Regions from separate parts of the Homo sapiens genome. Here regions 1, 2, 3, 4, 5 and 6 are each linked to region 7. The links are contacts of gene promoters, found by promoter capture Hi-C in blood cells and fetal thymus (Javierre and others, 2016). All regions are on one chromosome and are shown on one strand. Each heading gives the region's core, a stretch centred on a gene start or on the middle of the fragment in contact. The rest is flanking DNA. Distances are from core to core; before and after follow the strand shown. Region 1 overlaps MRPL15 (mitochondrial ribosomal protein L15). Region 2 has its middle 24 kb from the start of MRPL15. Region 3 overlaps LYPLA1-TCEA1 (LYPLA1-TCEA1 readthrough). Region 4 overlaps LYPLA1-TCEA1 (LYPLA1-TCEA1 readthrough). Region 5 overlaps LYPLA1-TCEA1 (LYPLA1-TCEA1 readthrough). Region 6 holds the start of UBXN2B (UBX domain protein 2B). Region 7 holds the start of PLAG1 (PLAG1 zinc finger).

Region 1 (3,257 bases), core at 235-2,734, 2.1 Mb before region 7:
CAACCTCCACCTCACAAGTTCAAGTGATTCTCCTGCCTCAGCCTCCTGAATAGCTGGGATTACAGGCACCCACCACCATGCCCAGCTAATTTTATTTGTTTTTAGTAGAGACAGGGTTTCACTATGTTGGCCAGGCTGATCTTGAACTCCTGACCTTAAGTGATCTGCTCACCTCGGCCTCCCAAAGTGCTGGAATTACAGGTGTGAGCCACCATGCCTGGCCCGTAGGAGATATTTTTGATTTCCAGATAATCAGTACTCTACCCCCTTTATTTTTAGCCCATTTGTGTTTATAACTGTTATGTAGTGGTGATAGCTGTGGTTTTGGAAAGCTGTCATACTATCATGGCAGGGCTCTGTCCCTTGGTCCTGGAATGCTGCTCTTCTGCATATCTGTAAAGCTTGCCTTCTTTTTTTTTTGTTTTTGTTTTTGAGATGGAGTCTCGCTCTGTTGCCCAGGCTGGAGTGCAGTGGCACGATCTCGGCTCACTGCAACCTCTGCCTCCTGGGTTCAAGAAATTCTCCTGCCTCAGCCTCCTGAGTAGCTGGGACTATAGTCGTGCGCCACCACACCCGGCTAATTTTTTATATTTTTAGTAGAGATGGAGTTTCGCCATATTGGCCAAGCTGGTCTTGAACACCTGACCTCGTGATCCACCCACCTTGGCCTCCCAAAGTGCTGGGATTACAGGCGTGAGCCACCGCCCACGGCGCCCCCTTCTTTTGGTTCTCTGCTTGAATGTCAACATATCAGGAAGATCTTTTTTTTTTTTTTTTTTTTTTTTTTTTAAATAGAGATGGAGTCTCACTCTGTCTCCCAGGCTGGAGTACAATGGCGCGATCTCAGCTCACTGCCAACCTCTGCTGCCCAGGTTCAAGCTATTCTCGTGCCTCAGCCTCCTGAGTAGGTGGGACTACAGGTGCGTGCCACCACGTCTGGCTAATTTTTTTTATTTTTAGTAGAGGTGGGGTTTTGCTATGTTGGCCAGGCTGTTCTCGAACTCCTGACCTCAGGTGATCTGCCCGCCTCAGCTTCCCAAAGTGCTGGGATTACAGATGTGAGCCACCCCGCCTGGCCAGGAAGGTCTTTTTTGAGAGTCTTTTTAAAAGAGCACTTGCCCTGCTTCAGGAGTCACAGTGTTTCCTTTACTCTGCCCAAAGTATTTTTCTTTGAATATATATGAGCACTTGACATTTATTACCAAGTTATGCATTTGTTTTCATTGTCTTCCTCACTAGAATATAAGCTCCCTTGAGGGCAGGTGCTTTGATTCATTGCTTTACTTTCTTCTTTATTTTTTTTGAGACAGTATCTCACTCTGTGGCCCAGGCTGGAGTACAGTGGTGTCATCTCAGCTCACTGCAACCTCTTGTCTCCTGAGTTCAAGTGATTCTTCTGCCTTAGCTTCCCAAGTAGCTGGGATTACAGGCACCTGCCACCAGGCCCAGCTAATTTTCTGCTTTTTTTTTGTTTTTGGAGATGGAGTCTCACTCTGTCACCCAGGCTGGAGTGCAGTGGCACGATCTCGGCTCACTGCGATCTCCACCTCCCGGGTTCAAGCGATTCTCTTGTCTTAGCCTTCCAAGTAGCTGGGATTACAGGCATGTGCCACCATGCCAGGCTAATTTTGTATTTTTAGTAGAGACAGGGTTTCACCGTGTTGGTTAGGCTGGTCTTGAACTCCTGACCTCAGGTGATCCGCCTGCCTCGGCCTCCCAAAGTGCTGGGATTACAGACGTGAGCTACCCGTCGGCCAAATTTTTTGTACATTGTTAATCAACTACTGTTTGCCAATAATACAGTTGTATAAGTAAGTTAGTGTCCACTAGAGGGAAGCATATATTTATGAAAAAACCTTTCAGATTCTTTTGAAAAAGTGAACTGTATGGATAAAAACTTTCCAAATAAAGTAATTTGAAAAGAGAATACCAAATACAAGATTAAGCCTCAGTATTCTACCCTGAGTGTATATAAAGAAATACACATGTAACTTAACATATGGAAATCCATGACCTTATCAGCCCTTAAACTGCACATCCCAACATCCTTAGGTGTTGTCTATTAGATTAATAAAAATAACCCTGAAAACTTTACCCCAGGGCACTGGTCAAGTAATTGCAATGACACATTATTTATAGCTCTGTTAACTGATTTACTTCTGTGATTTCAGATTTGTAGTAAATAGTGAATAATAAGACAGTTTTGATCCTTTAGCACAAAATTATCAATTTGGAAACATGTTCTCAAGGAAAAGCAAAATGAAAGAAACCTGATATAAAGATAGTCCTAAAAATGCTATTTATACTACTGAAAATACTGGAACTGACACCAATGCCCCCAAATAGGGAGATGGTTAAGCAAACTATGGATTGCTTAAAAATCACAAATGATACAGCAAGACCCTGTTTTATTGAATCAAAGGTACTGTTGATTTTAAACATATACCAGTATTGGATATAAAAAAAGTGTGAAAATGCATCTTAGAATTGATGGAATATTTTTGAAATACATGAAAAATTAATAATAGAAGGAGCTAAACTGGGAGCCACTTTCTTTCAGCTTCATGAAAGCTTTCTATTGCCATAGAGTGGTAATGCTGCCATCTTTTTGCTTTTATCAGAATCTGCTTTGAAATTAGAGAAAAATATAGCACATCCTGACTGTGACCAAAAATTTAACGTTTCAGAGTTCAGAGCTACATTTTCCTTTTTTTTCTGTCTTTTTTATTTTTTTTGAGATGGAGTCTCGCTCTGTTGCCCAGGCTGCAGTGCAATGGCACAATCTCGACTCACTGCAACCTTCACCTCCACCTTGGGTTTAAGCCATTCTCCTGCCTCAGCCTCCCGAGTAGCTGGGATTACAGGCACATGCCACCATGCCCGGCTACATTTTGTATTTTTTAGTAGAGATGGGGTTTTACCATGTTGGCCAGGCTGGTTTCAAACTCCAGACATCAAGTACTCCGCCCTCCTTGGCCTCCCGAAGTGCTAGGATTGAGTCACCGCACCCGGCCTAGAACTACATTTTCTTTTCTTTTTTTTTTTTTTTTTGAGATGGAGTCTCGCTCTGTCACCCAGGCTGGAGTGCAGTGGCGCGATCTCGGCTCACTGCAAGCTCCGCCTCCCGGGTTCACACCATTCTCCTGCCTCAGCATCCTGAGTAGCTGGGACTACAGGCACCCGCCACCATGGCCGGCTAATTTATTTATTTTTTTGTATTTTTAGTAGAGACAGGGTTTCACCGTGTTAGCCAGGGT
Region 2 (3,266 bases), core at 512-3,011, 2.1 Mb before region 7:
AGACGGATTCTCGCCCTGTCGCCCAGGCTGGAGTGCAATGGCACGATCTCGGCTCACTGCAACCTCCGCCTCCTGGTGCAAGTGATTCTCTGGTCTCATCCTCCTAGTAGCTGAGATTACAGGCGCCCGCCACCATGCCTGGCTAATTTTTTGTATTTTCAGTAGAGACGGGGTTCTCAACATGTCGGCCAGGCTGGTCTTGAACTCTTGACCTCAGGCGATCCACCTGCCTCAGCCTCCCAAAGTGCTGGGATTACAGGCGTGAGTCACCGCACCCAGCCAACAACTCCCTATTTCTTCCTCCCCTCCCCCAGTCCCTGGCAACCACCATTCATCTTTCCTTTTCAATGAATTTGACTACTTTAGATACCTTATTTAAGTGGAATCAGAAGTATTTGTCCTTCTGTGACTGGCTTATTTCATTTAGCATAATGTCTCATGCTTCATTCATCTTGAGCACCTGTCAGAATTTCCTTCCGTTTTAAGACTGAATAATATTCCATCGTATGTATATACCAGATTCTATTTATTCACTCCTCTGTTGAGGGACATTTGGGTTGTTTCCATCTTTTGGCTGCTGTGGTTGATGTTGCCCTGAACATTGGTTTTCAAGTTTGAGTTCTTGCTTTTTTTTTTTTTGATGGAGTCTCACTCTGTCACCCAGGCTGGAGTGCAGTGGTGCAATCTCGGCTTGCTGCAACCTCCAGCTCCCAGGTTCAAGCGATTCTCCTACCTCAGCCTCCCGAGTAGCTGGGATTACAGGTATGTGCTGCCATGCCCGGCTAATATTTTCTGTGTTTTTCCAGTAGAGATAGGGTTTTACCATGTTGGCCAGGCTGGTCTCGAACTCCTGACCTCAGGTGATCCCCCGACTCGGCCTCCCAAAATGTTGGGATTACAGGCATGAGCCACCGCACCTGGCCATGAATTCTTGCTTTCAATTCTTTTGGGTATATACCTAGGAGTGGAATTGCTGGGTCATATGGTTATTCTATGTTTGAACTGTTTTTTTTTTTTTTTGAGATAGAGTCTCACACTGTTGCCCAGGCTGGAGTGCAAGTGGCTCGATCTCAGCTCACTGCAACCTCTGCCTTCCAAGTTCAAGCAGTTCTCTTGGCTCAGCCTTCAGAGCAGCTGGGATTACAGGTGTGTGCCACCACACCCCGCTAATTTTTATATATTTATTAGAGACAGGGCCTCACTATGTTGGCCAGGCTGATCTCCAACTCCTGACCTCAGATTATCTGCCCTGCTTGGCCTACAAGGCACTGTGCAGATAATTTTCAAATATTTATTTGATTAATCATTCCAAGGCTTGTTTATTGAGTACCTCCTAAGTCCCAAACTCTGGGTCTTCCATGCTGAATAAAATACATGGTCTTTGCCCTCATGCAGTTGATAGTCTAAAAGCAGAGTTGTTCACGCAAATGAATATAAAATTGCAATGAAGATAAGTGCTGGAAATGGTGTTTATGTGGGACACGACTGCATACAAGAAGGTAATCTGATTTAGTAAGTGAAATCAGGGAAGGATTCCTTTAGAAGTGACAAAACAAGGGTTGAGAGTGAGCCCAGTGAGGCGATGAGAGCAATCCTTCTGTGCAAAGGGAGCAGCGTGCATCAGGATGCTGTGCCTGAAGGAAGCATTGCGTTACAGAGATCTCAAAGACCTTTTTGGAACAAAAAAGCAAAGAAAGGCTGTAGGAAACAAGGTAAAAGACATTTCATCTTCACAGAAGTTTTTTAAACCTTGGGGTGAAATTCATATACCATAAAGTTGACAACTGAAAACAATTCAGCAGAATGTCATACATTCTCAGTGTTGTGCAACCACCTCCTCCATCTAGTTCCAAAGCATTTCATCACACCAAAAGGAAACTAATAGCCATTAAGCAGTCTGTATTCATCTCTCCCTGCCTCCAGCCCCTGGGAACTACTAATCTGCTTTCTTTCTCTTTTTTTTTTTTTTTGGAGACGGAGTTTCACTCTTGTCACCCAGGCTGGAGTGCAATGGCGTGATCTCAGCTCGCCGCAACCTCTGCCTCCTGGGTTCAAGCAATTCTCCTGCCTCCTGCCTCAGCCTCCCAAGTAGCTGGGATTACAGGTGCCTGCCACCACGCCCAGCTAATTTTTGTATTATTAGTAAAGATGGGGTTTCACCATGTTGGCCAATTTGGTCTCGAACTCCTGACCTCAGATGATCCACCCGCCTCAGCCTCCCAAAGTGCTAGGATTACAGGCATGAGCCACCACTCCCAGCCTATTAATCTGCTTTCTATCTCTACAGAATTATCTATTTTGGATATGTTATGTAAATGAAATCATACACTATGTGGTCTTTTGTGTCTGGCTTCCTTCACTTAATATATTTTCAAGGTTCATCCAATGTTGTAGCATGAACCAGTACTTCATTCCTTTTGATGGCTAAATAATATTCCATTGCATGTATATATGACAACTGTTTATCCACTCATTTGTTGATGAACATTTGGCCTGTTTCTACCTTTGAGTTATTGTGAATAAAGCTGCTGTGCACATTAGAGTGCAAGAAATGAGTCCCCGGTTTCAGTTATCTAGGGTATATGCTGGGGAATGGAATTACATGGTGATATGGTTTGGCTGTGTCCCCACCAAAATCTCAACTTGAATTTTATCTCCCAGAATTCCCATGCATTGTGGGAGGAACCTAGGGGGAGGTAATTGAATCATGGGGACCAGTCTTTCCCACGATATTCTCATTATAGTGAATAAGTCTCACACGATCTGATGGGTTTATCAGGGGTTTCCGCTTTTGTTTCTTCCTCATTTTTCTCTTGTGGCTGCCATGTAAAAAGTGCCTTTCACCTCCTGCCATGATTCTGCGGCCTCCCCAGCCATGTGGAACTATTAAGTCCAATTAAACCTGTTTTTCTTCTCAGTCTTGGGTATGTCTTTATTAGCAGCGTGAAAATGGACTAATATAGTAAATTGGTACGAGTAGAGTGGGGCGTTGCTGAAAAGATACCTGAAAACGTGGAAGTGACCTTGGAACTGGGTAACAGGGAGAGATTGGAACAGTTTGGAGAGTTCAAAAGAGGATAGGAAAATGTGGGAAAGTTTGGAACCTCCTAGAGACTTGTTGAATGGCTTTGACAAAAATGCTGATAGTGATATGAACAATAAAGTCCGGGCTGAGGTTGTCTCATGGAGATGAGGAACTTGTTGGGAACTGGAGCAAAGGTGACTCTTGTTATGTTTTAGCAAAGAGACTGGCAGCATTTTGCCCC
Region 3 (3,266 bases), core at 303-2,802, 2.1 Mb before region 7:
CTTTCAAACATTCTTCTCTATACTTTTATAATCTCCTTGGTCTAGGAAATGTCACAGGGACTGGTAATACAGATAAGTAATTCCTGGAATACATCGGGGCTGGGGAGTAGCAGGGAGGGGGACACATGAAGAGAACCAAGCTTTCCACCAGGCCTTTCCTCCTCCTCGTTTCCCCTTAATTGGAACTGAGCTTTCAGGTGTGATATTCAGCAGATGGGGAGAGGTCCCATGAATGAAGCATAGCTGTGAGCTGGTGCAACTGGAGGGGCACACTCCACAGTTGCACTGTTGGCCAGAACCCCCCAAGAACAGAAGTCAGGTTCCTCACGGAATTACAAATATGGAAAGGGAGAAGGCTATAATAAACCCTGTGGTGCTGGGCTGCAATTGGAGGAATCATTATAAACTCAAGATTTTGAATACTTATAAATACTAAAACTGATATGTGTGTACATATGTATGTATGTCCATATATTCTTAGCTCTGTCCACTGCAAGGGTCTAGATCTGGGAGCACATATAGCATCCAGATCTCACTGTCTACTAAAAGGAACCAGGGTTCTTGGAAAAATGGCTGAGTCCAGGACTAGAGCAGGAAACATATAAGACAATCCTAGAAAAAGTCTTGTACCATAAAGTGAGGAAGTGATCAAATAAGAATGAGGATATGTCCAAAAGACACCAAGTACCAGCTTGAAAGGGTTACTGTGGCCAACTAAAGGACAATTTGAGCATCAAAATAAATAACTAACTTGATTGTTATCCTCTGAATACAATAGGAATCCAAGAGTCTGTACTGATTTAAAATTTTGAAACAAATGAGTATCTACATAAGTAATAAATAAAGGAGAAAGGAAAGCTCTACCCCACAGTAGACTGCTAAATAATAAATCCAGAATAAAGGAATTTTTTTTTTTTTTGAGACTGAGTCTCACTGTCGCCTAGGCTGGAGTACAGTGGCACCATCTTGGCTCACTGCAACCTCCAGCTCCCAAGTAGATGGGACAACAGGCATGCACCATCCTGTCCAGCTAGTTTTTTAATTTTTAGTAGAGACGAGGTTTCGTCATGTTGGCCAGGCTGGTACTGAACTACTGACCTCAGATGATCCTCCTGCCTCAGCCTCCCAAAGTGCTGGAATTACAGGCATGAGCCACTGCACCCGGCCAGAACAAAGGAAATTTAATTAAAAGACCATATTTTAACTTTAAATATTTAAATATCATAAGATATTCGGCAACTACCACAACAATAGATTCTGGCAATAATCATTAATGGGTGCTAAATCCATGGGTGAACATATGGTGGGGATCAGGAATATGTTATAATATCAAGGTATCTCCCCACAAAATATTTTTTAATATTTTAATTACATATTCAATATTTTAAATATTTCATATGTTATATTTATTATTTTAATGTGGAGAAACCTGGCAGACACCATCTTAACCAAGTGATAAAACACATCAGTAACAACAAAATCATCATGAGGTCTGCCTAATATGATGCACTGTTATGGACACAGCAATACCCCTATAGTGTTACTGTCAAAAAGGTATAAATCACAAAACATCAGATAAACCCAAACTGAGGGACATTCTACAAAGTAACTGGCTTACACTTTTTTTTTTTTTTTTTGGTAGACACAGGGTCTGGCTGTTGCCCAGGCTGGTCTCAAACAGCTGGGCTCAAGCGATTCTCATGCTCAGCTTCCCAAAGCACTGGTATTACCATACCCGGCCTGTATTCTTGACAAAGTGTCAAGGTCATGAAAGACAAGGACTGTTTCAGAATAAAGAAAACTAAAGAGAAATGATAAGTAGAGGCAATATGTGATCCTAGACTGATAAAGGACATTATTGGCTCAAATCAATGAAATGTGAATGGAGCTGGTGGATTAGACCGTAGTATACCATCAGTGTTAACTTCTTAATGATGGTTATACTGGAGTGTCCTGGTACTTAAAAATGTACACTGAAGAATTAAGCTGTAATGAGGCAACACGCCTGCAACTTATTCTTTAATAGTTCAGAAATATTAACAATTGGGTAATTTGGGTGAAAGGTATAAGGAGCTATAAATGTTATTTCTGCAACTTTTATGTAAATTTCAAGTTATTTAAAATGAAAAGTTAAAAAGTTTAAAACATAACAGAATAGAACATAACCTATTAAATAAATCTGAGTCCAGGCATGACACAGTGGTTCATGCCTGTAATTCCAGGGAGGGACTGGGAGGCCGAAGTGGGCAAATCACTTGAGGTCAGGAGTTCGAGACCAGCTTGGCCAACATGGCAAAACCCCGTCTCTACTAAAACTACAAAAATCTGACTGGACACTATGGCTCACGCCTGTAATCCCAGCACTTTGGGAGGCTGAGGAGGGCAGATTACGAGGTCAGGAGTTTGAGATCAGCCTGACCAACATGGTGAAACCCCCCCGTCTCTACTAAAAATACAAAAAAAATTAGCCAGGCGTGGTGGCACGTGCCTGTAATCCCAGCTACTCATGAGGCTGAGGCAGGAGACTCACTTGAACTCAGGAGGCAGAGGTTGCAGTGAGCCAAGATCACGCCACTACACTCCAGCCTGGACGACAGGGCGAGACAAGGTCTCAAAAAAAAAAAAAAAAATTAGCCGGGTGTGGCGGCACGCACCTATAGTCCCAGCTACTTGGGAGGCTGAGGCAGCAGAACTGCTTGAACCTGGGAGGTGGAGGTTCAGTGAGCCGAGATTGCACCACTGCACTCCAGCCTGGCTGGGTGACAGAGCGAGATTCTGTCTCAAAAAATAAACAAATAAATAAATAAATAGAAAATAAATCTGAGTCCATACTAACTAAATGGGGAGTAGCAGATTAATAAACAAAATGGAATGACAAAAAAAAAGGAATGACAGAATTGGAAAATCACACTGTAGAAATGATTGACTCAAGCAATTATCAATGGATGATAAAAATATTGGGTGAAAGCTTGATGAACAACTTGCATAGTCACAAAGTATCCCCCCGCAACTTGCTTTTTAATTACAAAAGGAAAGTAACTGCAGTCGAGACCTGGAAGATACCACCTTAATCAAAAGATCGAAGTTACAACAATAAAAGGACTCAGCATCATTAGTCTACTGATGCGCGCAATGAATAGGACATATTGTTTACATGGTATTTATACCAGAAATGCATAAACTGAATCTAATCATGAGTAAATACACAAACCCAAATTAAAGGACTAGCCTGTTCTCTGCAGAAGTGTCAATGTCGTGAAAGACAA
Region 4 (3,397 bases), core at 489-2,988, 2.2 Mb before region 7:
ATCCAGTTGTGTCAAAAGTTAAGAAAGCCAAATTTGACTGGCCTAAAAGGCAAAAAAACCCTAAAGATCAAATTAACTCCCCTCGCCTTTATTACGAGGCACTGCTTTCAGTATATCTAGATTCACTAAGAAAAAAATGTAACCATTAACTAACCATAAAATGTAACCATTAACTATTTGAATAAATCACAACATCATAAATATATGTAAGGGAAGATCAATGATACCTAATAATTTTTTCCAGGATTTGATGAGAGACTTTGCCAAAGATGTAACTTCCTCATCTGTACTCTGCTTGCGAATAGCATTAACTGACATTCCGATTCTTGTGGACTGCAAGGCAATAACAAAAAAATTATGTATACCAATTTTATTTTAAACAAATTAGTATTTCACCTACATTCTTTTCTTTCCCAGATTCCTGTTTCTATTTTAGAATTTCAAAACTTCAATTTTTGGATCCTTATAATAGCAAATTATATTAAGATACATACATCTTCAGATCAAACACTAGACTCATTAATGTTCTTATCATCAAGATCTAGAAGCATAAAATTCACTACTGTAATAAGTCTGGTTAACTAGAAAAATGCAATCAATCTTTCCACAAGGGAGAAGTGAAGATAAACGAGGATAAAATATATAATGTTGTATATAAGTCAGGCTGAAGCAATCATGACTAATACATGCATTTCTTTGTTTCTATACATTCCTCTACATGGATTACTTCATAGAGCACCAGCTGCAAATTATTATGAGGATATCCAAACAAAAACTACCACCTATCCAGGTTTAAAAGGCTTTATTTTGCCAGGAACCAGCATATAATCAGAGACATTAAAATGCACTTCACAAAATACAGGTAAAATTTAACCTGTGATAATTACGTGCCTAGAATTATGCTTAGAGCATCCACATTCATCAATCTTTCTAACAACCCTTCAAAGTTGAGATCATCCCTATTTTTAAAGATGAAGAGATTGGAAGTACCAATAAATAACGTGCCCAGCATCACACCATTACCAACCAGCAAAGCTGGGATTTTTTTTTTTTTTTTTTGAGACGGACTCTCACTCTGTCACCCAGGCTGGAGTGCAGTGGGGCACGATATTGGCTCACTGCAACCTCCACCTCCTGGTTCAAGCAATTCTCCTGCCTCAGCCTCCCGAGTAGCTGGGATTACAGGCACATGCCACCTCGCCCGGCTGATTTGTGTATTTTTAGTAGAGACGGACTGCACCACGTTGGCCAGGCTGGTCTCAAACTCTAGACCTCAGGTGATCCACACACCTCAGCCTCCAAAGTGCTGGGATTACAAGCATGAGCCACCGGCCCAGCCAAAAACTGGGATTTTAATCCAGGTTTGTTCACTGCCGAAGTCCATGGTCTTTGTAGCACATTAATGGTTTCAAATTGTGCTCAAAGAACACAAAAGCTATGACAGCCCAAATATGGATGATAAATAAAAAATGGTATATTATTTAGTAAGTTCGGGTTGTTAACAGACAATATTTCAAACATATGGTCTATGGAAGAAAAAAATAACAAAAGGAATTCTTAGTGGTGAAAAAAAAGAGACACCCTATTGTAAGCTTTACGGTAGAAAAATATACGGGTACTTGAGGTTTCCTTCTAAATTATTCAATCCTCTCAACAAACAGATTCAGGATCTAAGTTTTATTCAAGAATTTAGAATATGTGGTTGGCTAGAGTGTCCTATATCTCTTAGAAAGCTGAGCAAAACAGACAAGATTGAACAGCAGAAAGATAAAGGGACTCCACAATTTTAAAGCCCCAAACAATTTGGGGTTAACAAGGCTAGTTTACTAGGAAAAAAACTCCACTTTTTGAATGTGTAGAGGAAATAACTTATTAGTGTGGTTCTGAAGCTTAGAACTGACACAAACGTGCAAAAAAATAAAATGGCACTTTACTAGGGGCTTGCAGGAGAGCAAAGGTGTAAGGAGATGATGAATTGTGTACTGCTGGGTGATTGCTTTTTAATTATCAGAGGATGTTTTGATTACTAAAAAGTCAATGATTATCCCGCTTAGCCTCAAACAAAACCTATACTGAGAATATAGTTATCTTGTAATAAACATGCTTATCTATGGAAGAGATTGTCAAGCCAAAATAATAAGAAATGAGGGGCACGGTGGCTCACACCTGTAATCCCAGCACTTTGGGAGGCTGAGGCGGGCGGCTCACGAAGTCAGGAGTTTGAGACCAGCCTGGCCAATATAGTAAAACTGTCTCTACTAAAAAAAAAAAACAAAAAACAAACAAACAAACAAAAAACAAATTAGCTGGGCGTGGTGGCAAGCGCCTGTAGTCCCAGCTACTCGGGAGGCTGAGACAGAAGAATCACTTGAACCCAGAAGGCAGAAGTTGCAGCGAGCCACGATCACACCACTGCGCTCCAGCTTCCAGCCTGGGCGACAGAGCAAGACTGTCTCCAAAAAGAAAAAAAAAGGGCGGGTATGGTGGCTCACGCCTGTAATCCCAGCACTCTGGGAGGCCGAGGTGGGTGGATCACGAGGTCGGGAGATTAAGACCATCCTGGCTGACACGGTGAAACCCCATCTTTAAAAAGTACAAAAAATTAGCTGGGCATGGTGGCACGCACCTGTAGTCCCAGCTACTTGGGAGACTAAGGCAGGAGAATTGCTTGAACCCGGGAGGTAGAGGTTGCAGTGAGCCGAGATTGCACCACTGCACTCCAGCCTGGGTAACAGAACAAGACTCCGTCTCAAAAAAAAAAAGAAAAAAAAGAAATGAAGCTGCTGAGGTAGAATGAAAAACAAAGATTTGAAATAAGTTTTTCTTTTTTCCTTTGGGGGTACCATGGAAAAAATGAAAAAAAAAAAAAGTAGAGGAAAAGATTATGAAGCTATTTACTTGGATAAGCAAGTCTGAAGTTGACTCTATGAATTCCCTAGAGATTTTTCCTAAAATTGGTATGCTAAGACTTACAAGATGTAATAGATAGGTTATACGAAAGTATTCTGTGCTCAAGTGACCTTAGGAATTGTGGGATTATAACTGTTTTCTTGACTGCAGGACTAATGAAAGCTTTCAGGACAAACTATACATCGTGAAACTCTAGCAGATAAAATATGTGCCTTTGCCTATGATTTCTATAGAACATCAGGTATACAGAAAGAAAGACATTACCTTGGAAAGGTGGAGAGTGCATTAAGCAGCCTTAGGGGTCAGCTGCACACTGATGGAAAAGCAGAAAGGAATGAGTACTGAGATCAAGAGACACTGTTAACATCACAGGAAACAAGCAGATTTGGTGTGCTCCAGAAGAAAAGTCTCCTTTGTGATCACTCATGAGTTTTTGCCAAGATGATCTCAAGGTAGCCACTAAATCTTAAGGTAAAAAACATATAGC
Region 5 (3,255 bases), core at 217-2,716, 2.2 Mb before region 7:
TTTTTTTGTTTCGTTTAGTTTTTTTGAGACGGAGTCTTGCTCTGTTGCCCAGGCTGGAGTGCAGTGGCGTGATCTCAGCTCACTGCAACCTCTGCCTCCCAGGTTCAAGCAATTCTCCTGCCTCAGCCTCCCAAGTAGCTGGGATTACAGGCACGTGCCACCACGCCCAGCTAATTTTTTTGTATTTTTTAGTAGAGACAGGGTTTCACTGTGTTACCCAGGATGGTCTCAATCTCCTGACCTTGTGATCCACCTGCCTTGGCCTCCGAAAGTGCTGGGATTACAGGCGTGAGCCACTGCACCCAGCCAAGCAGATTATATTTTAATCCATCTTTATATTTTCAGCTTTTTTTTGTTTGTTTGGTTGGTTGTTTTAGTATTTTGAGTTGCTGTTTTATTCAGCTATCTTTTTTTTTTTTTTTCCCCCAAAGACAGAGTCTTGCTCTGTTACCCAGGCTGGAGTGAAGTGGCACAATCGTGGCTCACTGCAACTTCCACCTCCTGGGTTCAAGTGATTCTCATGCCTCAGCCTCCTGAGTAGCTGGGATTATAGGTGTGCACCACGACGCCCAGCTAATTTCTGTATTTTTAGTAGCCATGGGGTTTCACCATGTTGGCCAGGCTGGTCTTGAACTCCTGACCTGAGGTAATCCACCCGCCTCAGCCTCCCAAAGTGCTGGGATTACAGGCATGAGCCACCGCACCTGGTCTAAAAATAAGTATGATTTCTATATGTTAAAAAAAGTCCTAATTTTCATATATATCCTAAAATGTATCAAATCCTTCTAATATAAGATTTGTGACAATAAGGTTTCTTTCTAATTCCATTCTATGTACTCCACAATACAGACAGTATAGCGTACAGAAATAAGGCCTAGTAATACATCACAAAAGTCTAAGAAAATTATTTTTAAAAAAGGATGAGTGCTGTAAGTGGAGGACTTGGTGATGGTGATGTGTCAGTGCAGCATTACTGACTGCAGCAAAAACATGGCTGTGGAGGTGGGGATGCTGATGGTGGGGAGGCTGTGCATGTGTGGGGACAGGAGGTAGATAGTAACTCTGTACCTTCTGCTCAGTTTTGCTGTGAATTTAGAACTTCTCCAAAAAATAAAGTTTATTAATAAAAAAAAATAAGATGACTTTATCTCCAACAATATCTACTAGCTACCTTTAGCTCAGTAATCTCATGTTGAGTGCATCAACCAAGTTACCTGTGGAAAGGAAGCCCGAAGTGGAAGCCAGCAACTGAGTGCAGTGACACCTGCCAGTTTCTGCTGTGTGGTAAGGGCAGTATATAAAGATAAAGCTCCTCCCTGAAAAGACAAGCAGGGAAAGTCAATGGAACACACATGCTTGCCCACAGCAATTTAGGGAATATCTTGTTACTAATGATATCCATAAAAAAATCAAACTTGGTGGCTGGTGTCAAATCAAATCAGGCAAATATCGGAAATACAAACACACCCCACCGTGTCCTAAAGGATGCGGTTCTCTACACCAGAGAACATACAGACTTCCTTTCCGACGAGACATAGTTTGTACCATGGGAAACTGCTGCACTTACAACATGCCTTACGAATATTCTGAATTTATATTTTCTCCTTTGCAGAATTTTAGGCATAAAATCCAATCTGCTCTTAAATTGGTATTACTTTTTTTTTTTTTTTTGAGATGGAGTTTCACTCTTGTTGCCCAGGCTGGAGAGTAATGGTGCAATCTTGGCTCACCACAACCTCCGCCTCCTGAGTTCAAGCGATTCTCCTGCCTCAGCCTCCCGAGTAGCTGGGATTACAGGCATGCACCACCACACCCGGCTAATTTTGTATTTTTGGTAGAGACGGGGTTTCTCCATGTTGGTTAGGCTGGTCTCAAACTCCCGACCTCAGGTGATCCACGCGCCTCAGCCTCCCAAAGTGTTGGGATTACAGGTGTGAGCCACCGTGCCTGGCCCTTAAATTGGTATTACTTTCTAAATGAGAATTTAAGATAATAATAACTATTTAGCAGACACCTTCAGAGTATCTGCCTACCCAGCTCACAACATCCCACATTCTGGAAGCTGTACTCCTGCCAGCATCCAGAAGCCCCATCACTCTGACCATGCCCATGGGTTACTGCAACACATGAGTACACGAGAGCCTTTCACATCCCAGGCAGTGATGTTTTCTCCTGGCACTGTGGAAATGGGATTCGATGACCACCAGTCACTCTCTGTGTGGCTACACCTGTAACATGTAAATTCAAGAGCTGGAAAAGCTATAGGCTGCAAAAGCCAAGATGGCCAATTGTTTATGGAAAGGTAAATGAAACAGACAAGCAAAGAAACAAGAGATGAGAGATGGTGAGCAAGGCCCAACTGCTTTTCAATTTCTAGCTACTTCCTGAGGCCTTGCCTCATTTTCCTCCTCAGTTTCCTTGATAGGATGCCACAGACTCATTGCTTACTCCTTGCTTGAGGTATTGAGTTGGTTTCTATATACTGTAATGAATGAATATCAAATATACAGACTCCCACATGAACTTGTTATTCTGGATCATTATTATTATTATTTTTGAGACAGAGTCTCAGCTCTGTTGCCCAGGCTGGAGTATAGTGGTGCGATCTTGGCTCACTGCAACCTCTGGCTCCTGGGTTCAAGTGATTTTCCTGCTTCAGCCTCCGGAGTAGCTGGAGTTACAGAGGCGTGCACCACTATGCCCGGCTAATTTTTGTATTTTTAGTAGAGACAGGGTTTCACCATGTTGGCTGGGCTGGTCTCGAACTCCTGACCTCAAGTGATCCACCCACCTTGGCCTCCCAAAGTGCTGGGATTACAGGCGTGAGCCACCGTGCCTGGCCTGGATCATTAATTTCTGTCCCTATGTTTATGTCACAATGTGTATTACAATATACATTATCTGTGAATTTCAACAAACACCAAATCAGTAACACCTTTTCACTATATTGTATCAACAAATCTTTCTACTGAATTCTATCTTCTAAATAATTTCAGAATTCTGACATCTCCCTAATTAAGGTAATCCAAACATCTCCCTAATTAAGGTAATCCAAACACTAAGTTGCTAACTTAGAAGATTTACAGATGATAAGTTAGAGCATCTGGGGACTGGTTCCATGGCAAACAGCTTATATGCCGCAGTAGCCATGAAAGAAAGGTCCGTATGAGGAAGCTACGTCTGTGGAGGGAGTACAGAAAGCAGGGGAAAAAGTACAGAGACAAAGAAAAATGCCAAAAATAAACACCACATATT
Region 6 (3,271 bases), core at 22-2,521, 2.2 Mb after region 7:
TTCTTTTTACCTTTGCATCCCTTGGGCATAAAAGTGCCTAGGAGGCCAGGCGCAGTGGCTCACGCCTGTAATCCCAGCACTTTGGGAGGCCGAGGTGGGCAGATCATGAGGTCAGGAGATCAAGACCATCCTGGCCAACATGGTGAAACCCCGTCTTTACTAAAAATACAAAAGTTAGCCGGGCATGGCGGCACGCACCTGTAGTCCAAGCTACTCGGGAGGCTGAGGCAGGAGAATTGCTTGAACCCGGGAGGTGGAGGCTGCAGTGAGCCGAGGTCGCGCCACTGCACTCCAGCTTGGGCGACAGAGCGAGGCTCCGTCTCAAAAACAAAAAGTGCCTAGGATAAGAAGACCAGAGTCTAAATCAATTTCAGTTGAATGACGAGGGCTTGATAGTCTCGAGATCTGCTTTTTTTCTTTTTTGAGACGGATCCTCCCTGTGTCGCCAGGCTGGAGTGCAGTGGCGCGATCTCGGCTCACTGCAACCTCCGACTCCCTGATTCAAGCGATTCTCCTGCCTCAGTCTCCCCAGTAGCTCGGACTACAGGCACGCTCCGCCACGCCCAGCTAATTTTTGTGTATATATATATATATATATGTGTATATATATGTATATATATGTGTATATATATATGTGTGTGTATATATGTGTATATATATATGTGTGTGTATATATATATATATATATATATATATATATATTTTTTTTTTTAGTAGAGAAGGGGTTTCACCATGTTGGCCAGGATGGTCTCGATCACCTCGTCCGCCTCGGCCTCCCAAAGTGCTGGGACTACAGGCGTGAGCCACAGGCCCGGCAGAGTTCTGCTTTTAGCAAATTATTCCAAGCACTTTTTACGGTGTTTTTCACTCTCAGTGCTAATTCACGCTGTGGTGACGATGTACCATCCAATCCTTGATAGGAAAGATCAGAGAATCTGACCAAGACTAGATGGAGAGGTTGCAATTTTTCATCAGATGAAAAATCCAGAGGATGTTTTCATTGTTGAGCTAAATGAATCTGCAAGTCTATGCTGCCCTCTAGGGCGGCCTACAGTGCCTTTAGGCGAGTAGCAGGAGCAACACAAAACTTAACAGAGGTTTCCCTGCGGAGAAACTCCCTTTAAGAAAAAAGGAGAAACCAAAAAGGTGGGCCAGCACCGGAAGCGGGGGCGCGGGTTCGGGTAGCGGGGACGCGCACGCACCTTGCGCGTCTTCGCCCCTCCTGCGGTTGCCAGGCAACCGGCCCCGGAAGTTGCGGCAGGTGCGTCCGCAGCGGGCGCCGCTAGCCAGCGGAAGATGGCGGAGGGCGGAGGCCCTGAGCCCGGCGAGCAGGAGAGGAGGTCTTCCGGGCCGCGGCCTCCGAGCGCGCGGGATTTGCAGGTGAGGCGAGGAGCCGGGGGAGGGAGCGCGGCGGTGGACGCGGGCTGGTGACGGCGCGGGCTGGTGCGAGTTGGAGGCCACCTCTGGCCTCGGCGGAGCCTTTCCCCGACCCCGTCTGGGGATAGAATCCGGCGCCCGGTCTCCCGATGTCGGGTCTTGACACTGTGGTGGTCGTGAACACAAGTGCCCAAGCCTCCAGCGCTGGTGCTTTGTCTCCCTTCCACCCCACGTATGATGTAAAAATAGCTATTCGTTTAGAATGACATTTTGCGGGGTCAGTTGGTCGGTTCACGGGTTGATGCTTCCTTCTTGAGACTTACTCCAGAAGAAAGGTTACTGTGGCCGCAGGGAAGTAGACAGTCACCTGAACAGTAATGATACGTGATTTGTTCTTTTTTGTCTTGGATGCTATTTCTGACTTGCTTACTTAAATATAAAAATGGTTCCATTTTATCAGGTAGGTTTTTCTTTTAAAGGGGTGAAGGAAAGCGATGCACTCTATGCCCATACAGCCTAGTTGTCTAAGCTGTGGTCTTTAAAACATTGCACTGAAGAAACTGGGAAATAAAATTTCGTAATGTTGTGTAGGACACTAGTATTAGTTAGCTAAATAGTAGCGCACCAAATCCCGTTTTATCAGATACTAACGCCACTTTTCTCATTTTAGGCGTTTTTGTGTCTCATTATAAGATTATTGATAAAAATTTGACAAGTAAATATCAGTAAGGAGATACTAAGGAGAATCTTGGTAGAACAGTTTTACTGTATTACTTTACAACCACACTTCATTCTAATGTGAACAAACCACCATCCATTGTAACATACTGCTGAGCTTTGCGAATGTGGAAATAAGGACATCAAATCCTTAGTCGGTGCTGAACTCTATTGATGGGTAGGTATGTAAGTGTAAAAGACAGTTCTACCTTTTGGAAGCCTACAGATTTCTTCGGAGAAATAGGGTATGAATACTTAGCATAACATTTTAAGATGGAGTATGATTGGGTGCCAAAATAAGCAGTGCATAAAGCGAAGAATTTGGAGGCTGGAGAGATCAGTGTAACATTAGGAGGTGAACTTAATGTAGAATAGTTCCAGCTCCCATAGTTGGTTCAGTAGTAGTAAACAGTATCAAGGGATAGGAAGCTATTGTGTACCTCATCTTTCCTATTATAAACCCACATCACTAAGAGGCAGCATGGAGTTAGTAGTCCCACCAATTTTGGTTTGCCTCTTAGTCCTGCTACTTAGTAGTTTTGTGAACTTAGGAGAAATGTCTTAACCTGTCTGATCCTGTGTCTTCATTTGTAAACTGAGGAAGGTCAGGGTGCTGGTGGTGGTGTAAGGATTAAATAATGTTATAAAGGGCCTATGCAAAATTCCTACATTATCCTGGCTCAGTTGTTGCTGGGCAAATATTTGATTCCTTTTTCCTCAGGAGAAAGATGCTATAACTTTCCCTGGCTAGTCAATTCTAATATCATTAAAGTTAATAGAGTGTGTAACTTAATGTCCTTTCCCTAATTTAAATCCATTTCTTCTTTTTATGTGAAAAGTGAGAACAGCTTGCTTAATGACCACCTGATTCTTGGCAAATTGTTTGCAGTCTTAATCCAGTGGATCAAAGTACGATTAATGTTTGGAGATACTCTGGTAGATGTTGCTAATTGTGAGAATGCCTTCATTTCCACCCTAAGTTATGATGGGGATTTTTTTTTTCATCTCCTGTCTACTTGTTGTAGGTTAGGGCAGTAGGAAGATAACTGATTTCTTTATGAATGTGATTTGGTGTATCAAGTACAGTATCTAAGTATTGATAATCTTTCCTTTAGAACTTAATATGAATGTGAAGAACTTGCAAAGAAACTTGAAAACAGCCAAAGGGATGGCATAT
Region 7 (3,482 bases), core at 844-3,343:
AACTGTTCAATAATGCTATACCATTACACCACACACCTTAAACTATTTCCATTTTTCCACAATTCCTTCCAAAATCAGCTTCCAAAGCAAAGCAATGTAACATGAAAAGTTCCTGGGAGGGCTTGTTACACAAAGGAACAGTTTGGATACAAACTATACACATATCCATCTTCGGTTGAGGCTGTTTATCCCTCCTGTCCCTCCATCACTCCTATGGGTGGGTGCACTGGAGTAACAGAAAGGGAAGGCTCTTCCATCACCACACCCTCCCAGCACCTCTGCTTTTGGTCCTCAGACAGTGATTCTGTGTAGGTGATGAAAACCATAAGAAAAGAGAAGCTGTCCCTTTAAAATGCCCTGCTCTGTCCCATATCCCACGTGGAACCAACATCAGCAGCACTTTCCCATTAACATCAATGTGATGCAAGAGACATCATCCTTTTATACACATAAAACCAGAAAACCTCAGCTTAACATTCTTTAGGAAGGATGAACAGGTGAAGCAAACATGTCAGGAAGGGGGAAACCAAGCAACTCCACATCCCTCCCCAAAAGGTACTCCAGCCTTGCACTCCAGCCTCTCTGAGCACCATCACCTCTCTATCCCTCCTCTGCAGAGCCCAGTTTAAAGAAAGGAGGGAGCCACTAACAAAACCTGAAGCATAAATGCGACGAAAATGCAATCTAAAGCCGGAAAGGTTCATTCTTCCAATCACACATATTAACTCTATTAAGAAAATGGCATCACTTTTTTTTCCACCCAAAAAAACCCCGCAAAGATCATTAAAAGAGAGTTATAAAATAGCAAATATAGTGTTTATCTTATCTGAGATCAGTCCACATTACCAATAAGTTTAGCAGTTTCTGCACTACCACCTCCCCCCTCGCTCCCCCTGCTTCTCTTGCATCGGATTTTCACGTTTTCTCATTGTCGGTTGAGTTATAAAAGGCTTTTGCCCTTCGAAAGTTTTAAAAAATAAATAAATATTAACTCCTTGGTCCCTGCAAAGTCAAAATGGACTTCAGGGGAAAGGCGGTACATACTTTTACCTTTAGCGAGAAAAGGGGGAGCATCCCGGATTTTTAGGGATTTTTTGCGATTTTTTAAAAATTTTTATTTGGTTATATGCCTGAGTTCTCCCTCCATTTTGGTTGTTTATGATACTGACAACAAGCTGTCCCTGCTCTGTGCCGATCTCCTGCTTTCATTTAGCACCCCCTCCCCCTACCCCCCCTCGCAGCCACACACCCCGGGCTCACACCTCCCTGCAGACCCCGCACCCCGACCCCGGCTTGCCCACCTGAGGAAAGGGCAAAAACAAATTCATTTCTCCAGAAAAGAAAAACCTCTTTTGAAAAAGGGGCAAAGTTACCCCAAGTCACTCAAAGTGCCCCCCAAATATTGCCGACTGCGGGTTTCCGCCAGGCCCTTTGGGAAGCGACCTTCCCCCGGGATGTTTTGGTGGAAAATGCGGAGAGTTTACTCTCAAAACTGAATTTATATTAATTTTTCCCTTATTTTTCGGGTCTCTAATGTCTTCCGCTCTCGCTGCTGCCGCTGCCGCTGTCACAATATTCACAGCACCAGAGAGGAGGAGGAGGAGGAGGAGGAGGAAAACTTTTCAAACTTTCCAGACCCTGAATAAAGGTTTTTTTTTTTTTCCCACCGACCTCACCTTCGGGTCCCCAGCCGCATCGCCCCCTGCCCTGTCAGAAGCGACTTCGGGAGTCCTCGCAGCCCCGCGTAATTATTTTATTTTATTTTTTATTATTATTTTTCTCTCTGGGGTCCTGAGCAGGGGCTGAGAGTAGCACAAACTTTTCCTCCTCCTGCCGCCGCCGCTGCTCCTCTGCCCCCTCGGCTAGTCCCATAATTTAAATAACCCTGATATTTCTCCCGCTAAACGCCTCGCCGCCGCCCCGGACCCCCGGAGAACTCACCGCGGGGCTTTAACATCCTCCCTCCGGCCCGTCCGCCGCCTCTACACCGCCCGCGGAATTTCTAATAATTTTTTTCTCATATTTCGGGCTGGACGCGGCGGGCCTGGAAATTGTTTCCTTACGCCTCTTTCCAGCAGCCATTGTAGTGTATGCGCTGCCCCTGCAGCCCAACTTGCAGCTGCCGCCGCCGCCGCCGCCGCCGCCGCCGACGTCGCGCCCACCGCTGCCTCCCCCTGCCTGTTCGGCCACCGCCCCCGCCTCCCGTCGGCCCGCCCCCAAACCCCGCCCGCCGCTGCGCCCGCCCCCCGCGCGCGCTCCGCCCGAGAGCTGGCCACTCGGAGCCGCCGCTGGCGGGAGTTGGCCCGCCCATTGGGCCGCGACGCCGCCCGTCAAGCCGAAGTGTTAAGAGACGGGCCGCGGCTGGGGGGCGCGGTGGGGCGGGGGAAGAGGGGGCGGGGTCGCGCTCACCGCCCCGCCCACTCCTCCCGCCTCGGCCCTCCTTTCGCCAGGCGGGGGCGGGGCGAGGCCCGACCGCCCCTGCGGCCCAGGGCCCCGCGCGGCTGTCAGTCTGGCGGCGGCGCGCGCCGATTGGGCGGGCTGCCGCCGGGGAGCGGGGGCAGCAAGTTGGGATGCGCGCTACTTAAGGTCCTGCTGCGTGAGCCATTGACGTGTTTGGAGCTGGAGACGGCCTGGGTGCTGGCGAAGCGGAGGCCGGAGGTGAGTGGTTCCCCCGCCCTACCTCCGAAGCGGCCGCAGAAAAGCGGGGAGAGAGGGGTGCCCTTGGGCCGTAGCGGGGCCCGAATGCACTTCTGCGGCGCGGAGGCGCTCCCGCCAGGCTTCGCCGCAGCGCGGACCTCTTCCCGTTGCTCTTCCTCCCGCCACACGGGTCTGTTCGCTCCGGGGGCGAGGAAGATGACCTCTGCCTAGTCCGGGCAACCCCAGCTCTTCTTCCACTCTCCTGTGTAGCCTCTGAAGCGCAGTTACCGGCCCCACCCCCAGTTCCCTGCGTTTTCCTCGCCCCTTGTCTCTCTCGGCATGGTCTCGGCACAGCAAGGTGTGTTCACCTGTGCGCGCCGTCCAGGATCAGATGCTGACGGGCTACACCGCGGAAGGCGGCGAGGCCTCGGGTTCGCCCTTCGTTTCTCCTTGCCCTGCGCGCCCACCTCCGGCAGGCCACCCTTGACTTCTTGCCCCCTTCCACTTTGCACCTGGCAGTGGGTTAACGGCACGGCGTGTGCAGCTTCCGGGTTTAGCAGAGCCGCGGACCCTGCCTGGGCTCCGACCACGGGGCGTGTGGGCATGAACGTGTTCAGAAACGTTTCCTTCCCCCTGCCCTTTCAAAGCTACTTAGAGAGGGGGGACGTGAACCACTGGATGGGAAATCAGGAACTGCTTTATTAAGCAGTTTGCCCTTTGGAGTGGATTTTAGAGTTATCCCCTGAATGTGCTATGGTTTTGTGGCCCCTCCTTCATATCTTTGCTTGGTTTTTCTTTCTGGTTATGCTCTGCAAGTAGTAGAGCCTTGTAACATTTATTTAGTA

What was found. The method cuts DNA at HindIII sites, captures the fragments that hold promoters and counts their contacts. A CHiCAGO score of 5 or more calls a contact.
Region 1: a fragment that was not itself captured here is called in contact with the fragment with the promoter of PLAG1 in region 7 in 4 of 17 cell types (total CD4 T cells, naive CD8 T cells, activated CD4 T cells and 1 more); the score reaches 12.5 in total CD4 T cells.
Region 2: a contact is called between a fragment that was not itself captured here and the fragment with the promoter of PLAG1 in region 7, in 1 of 17 cell types (non-activated CD4 T cells). The highest score is 5.4, in non-activated CD4 T cells.
Region 3: a fragment that was not itself captured here is called in contact with the fragment with the promoter of PLAG1 in region 7 in 6 of 17 cell types (activated CD4 T cells, naive CD8 T cells, non-activated CD4 T cells and 3 more); the score reaches 10.4 in activated CD4 T cells.
Region 4: a contact is called between a fragment that was not itself captured here and the fragment with the promoter of PLAG1 in region 7, in 1 of 17 cell types (activated CD4 T cells). The highest score is 5.9, in activated CD4 T cells.
Region 5: a contact is called between a fragment that was not itself captured here and the fragment with the promoter of PLAG1 in region 7, in 1 of 17 cell types (activated CD4 T cells). The highest score is 5.6, in activated CD4 T cells.
Region 6: the fragment with the promoter of UBXN2B here is called in contact with the fragment with the promoter of PLAG1 in region 7 in 1 of 17 cell types (M2 macrophages); the score reaches 5.0 in M2 macrophages.

The regions. Positions count from the first base shown.
Region 1 is chr8:54,137,541-54,140,797 of GRCh38, forward strand. All of the region lies in intron 3 of MRPL15 (mitochondrial ribosomal protein L15), which reads left to right. Among named protein-coding and RNA genes, the nearest start is that of MRPL15, 3.9 kb to the left of the region's middle. The HindIII fragment of the contact is 2,170 bases long and covers 400-2,569 here.
Region 2 is chr8:54,157,354-54,160,619 of GRCh38, forward strand. No RefSeq gene overlaps it. Among named protein-coding and RNA genes, the nearest start is that of MRPL15, 24 kb to the left of the region's middle. The HindIII fragment of the contact is 6,436 bases long and covers 1-3,266 here.
Region 3 is chr8:54,094,130-54,097,395 of GRCh38, forward strand. All of the region lies in intron 2 of LYPLA1-TCEA1 (LYPLA1-TCEA1 readthrough), which reads right to left. All of the region lies in intron 2 of LYPLA1 (lysophospholipase 1), which reads right to left. Among named protein-coding and RNA genes, the nearest start is that of LYPLA1, 6.2 kb to the right of the region's middle. The HindIII fragment of the contact is 2,828 bases long and covers 139-2,966 here.
Region 4 is chr8:53,999,718-54,003,114 of GRCh38, forward strand. It overlaps LYPLA1-TCEA1 (LYPLA1-TCEA1 readthrough), which reads right to left. Exons shown (of 21, transcript NM_001425842.1): 14 at 228-333. It overlaps TCEA1 (transcription elongation factor A1), which reads right to left. Exons shown (of 10, transcript NM_006756.4): 3 at 228-333. Among named protein-coding and RNA genes, the nearest start is that of TCEA1, 21 kb to the right of the region's middle. The HindIII fragment of the contact is 297 bases long and covers 1,591-1,887 here.
Region 5 is chr8:54,051,441-54,054,695 of GRCh38, forward strand. It overlaps LYPLA1-TCEA1 (LYPLA1-TCEA1 readthrough), which reads right to left. Exons shown (of 21, transcript NM_001425842.1): 7 at 1,215-1,316. LYPLA1 (lysophospholipase 1) reads right to left here. Exons shown (of 9, transcript NM_006330.4): 7 at 1,215-1,316. Among named protein-coding and RNA genes, the nearest start is that of TCEA1, 31 kb to the left of the region's middle. The HindIII fragment of the contact is 4,437 bases long and covers 1-3,255 here.
Region 6 is chr8:58,410,090-58,413,360 of GRCh38, forward strand. UBXN2B (UBX domain protein 2B) reads left to right here and starts at 1,272. Exons shown (of 8, transcript NM_001077619.2): 1 at 1,272-1,380. The coding sequence starts at 1,297. RefSeq lists enhancers at 1,268-1,327, 1,338-1,387, 1,668-1,717. The HindIII fragment of the contact is 12,087 bases long and covers 1-3,271 here.
Region 7 is chr8:56,209,180-56,212,661 of GRCh38, forward strand. PLAG1 (PLAG1 zinc finger) reads right to left here and starts at 2,094. Exons shown (of 5, transcript NM_002655.3): 1 at 1,942-2,094. It overlaps CHCHD7 (coiled-coil-helix-coiled-coil-helix domain containing 7), which reads left to right and starts at 2,610. Exons shown (of 4, transcript NM_001011671.3): 1 at 2,610-2,658. RefSeq lists silencers at 2,079-2,638, 2,481-2,706 and an enhancer at 2,719-2,788. The HindIII fragment of the contact is 9,849 bases long and covers 1-3,482 here.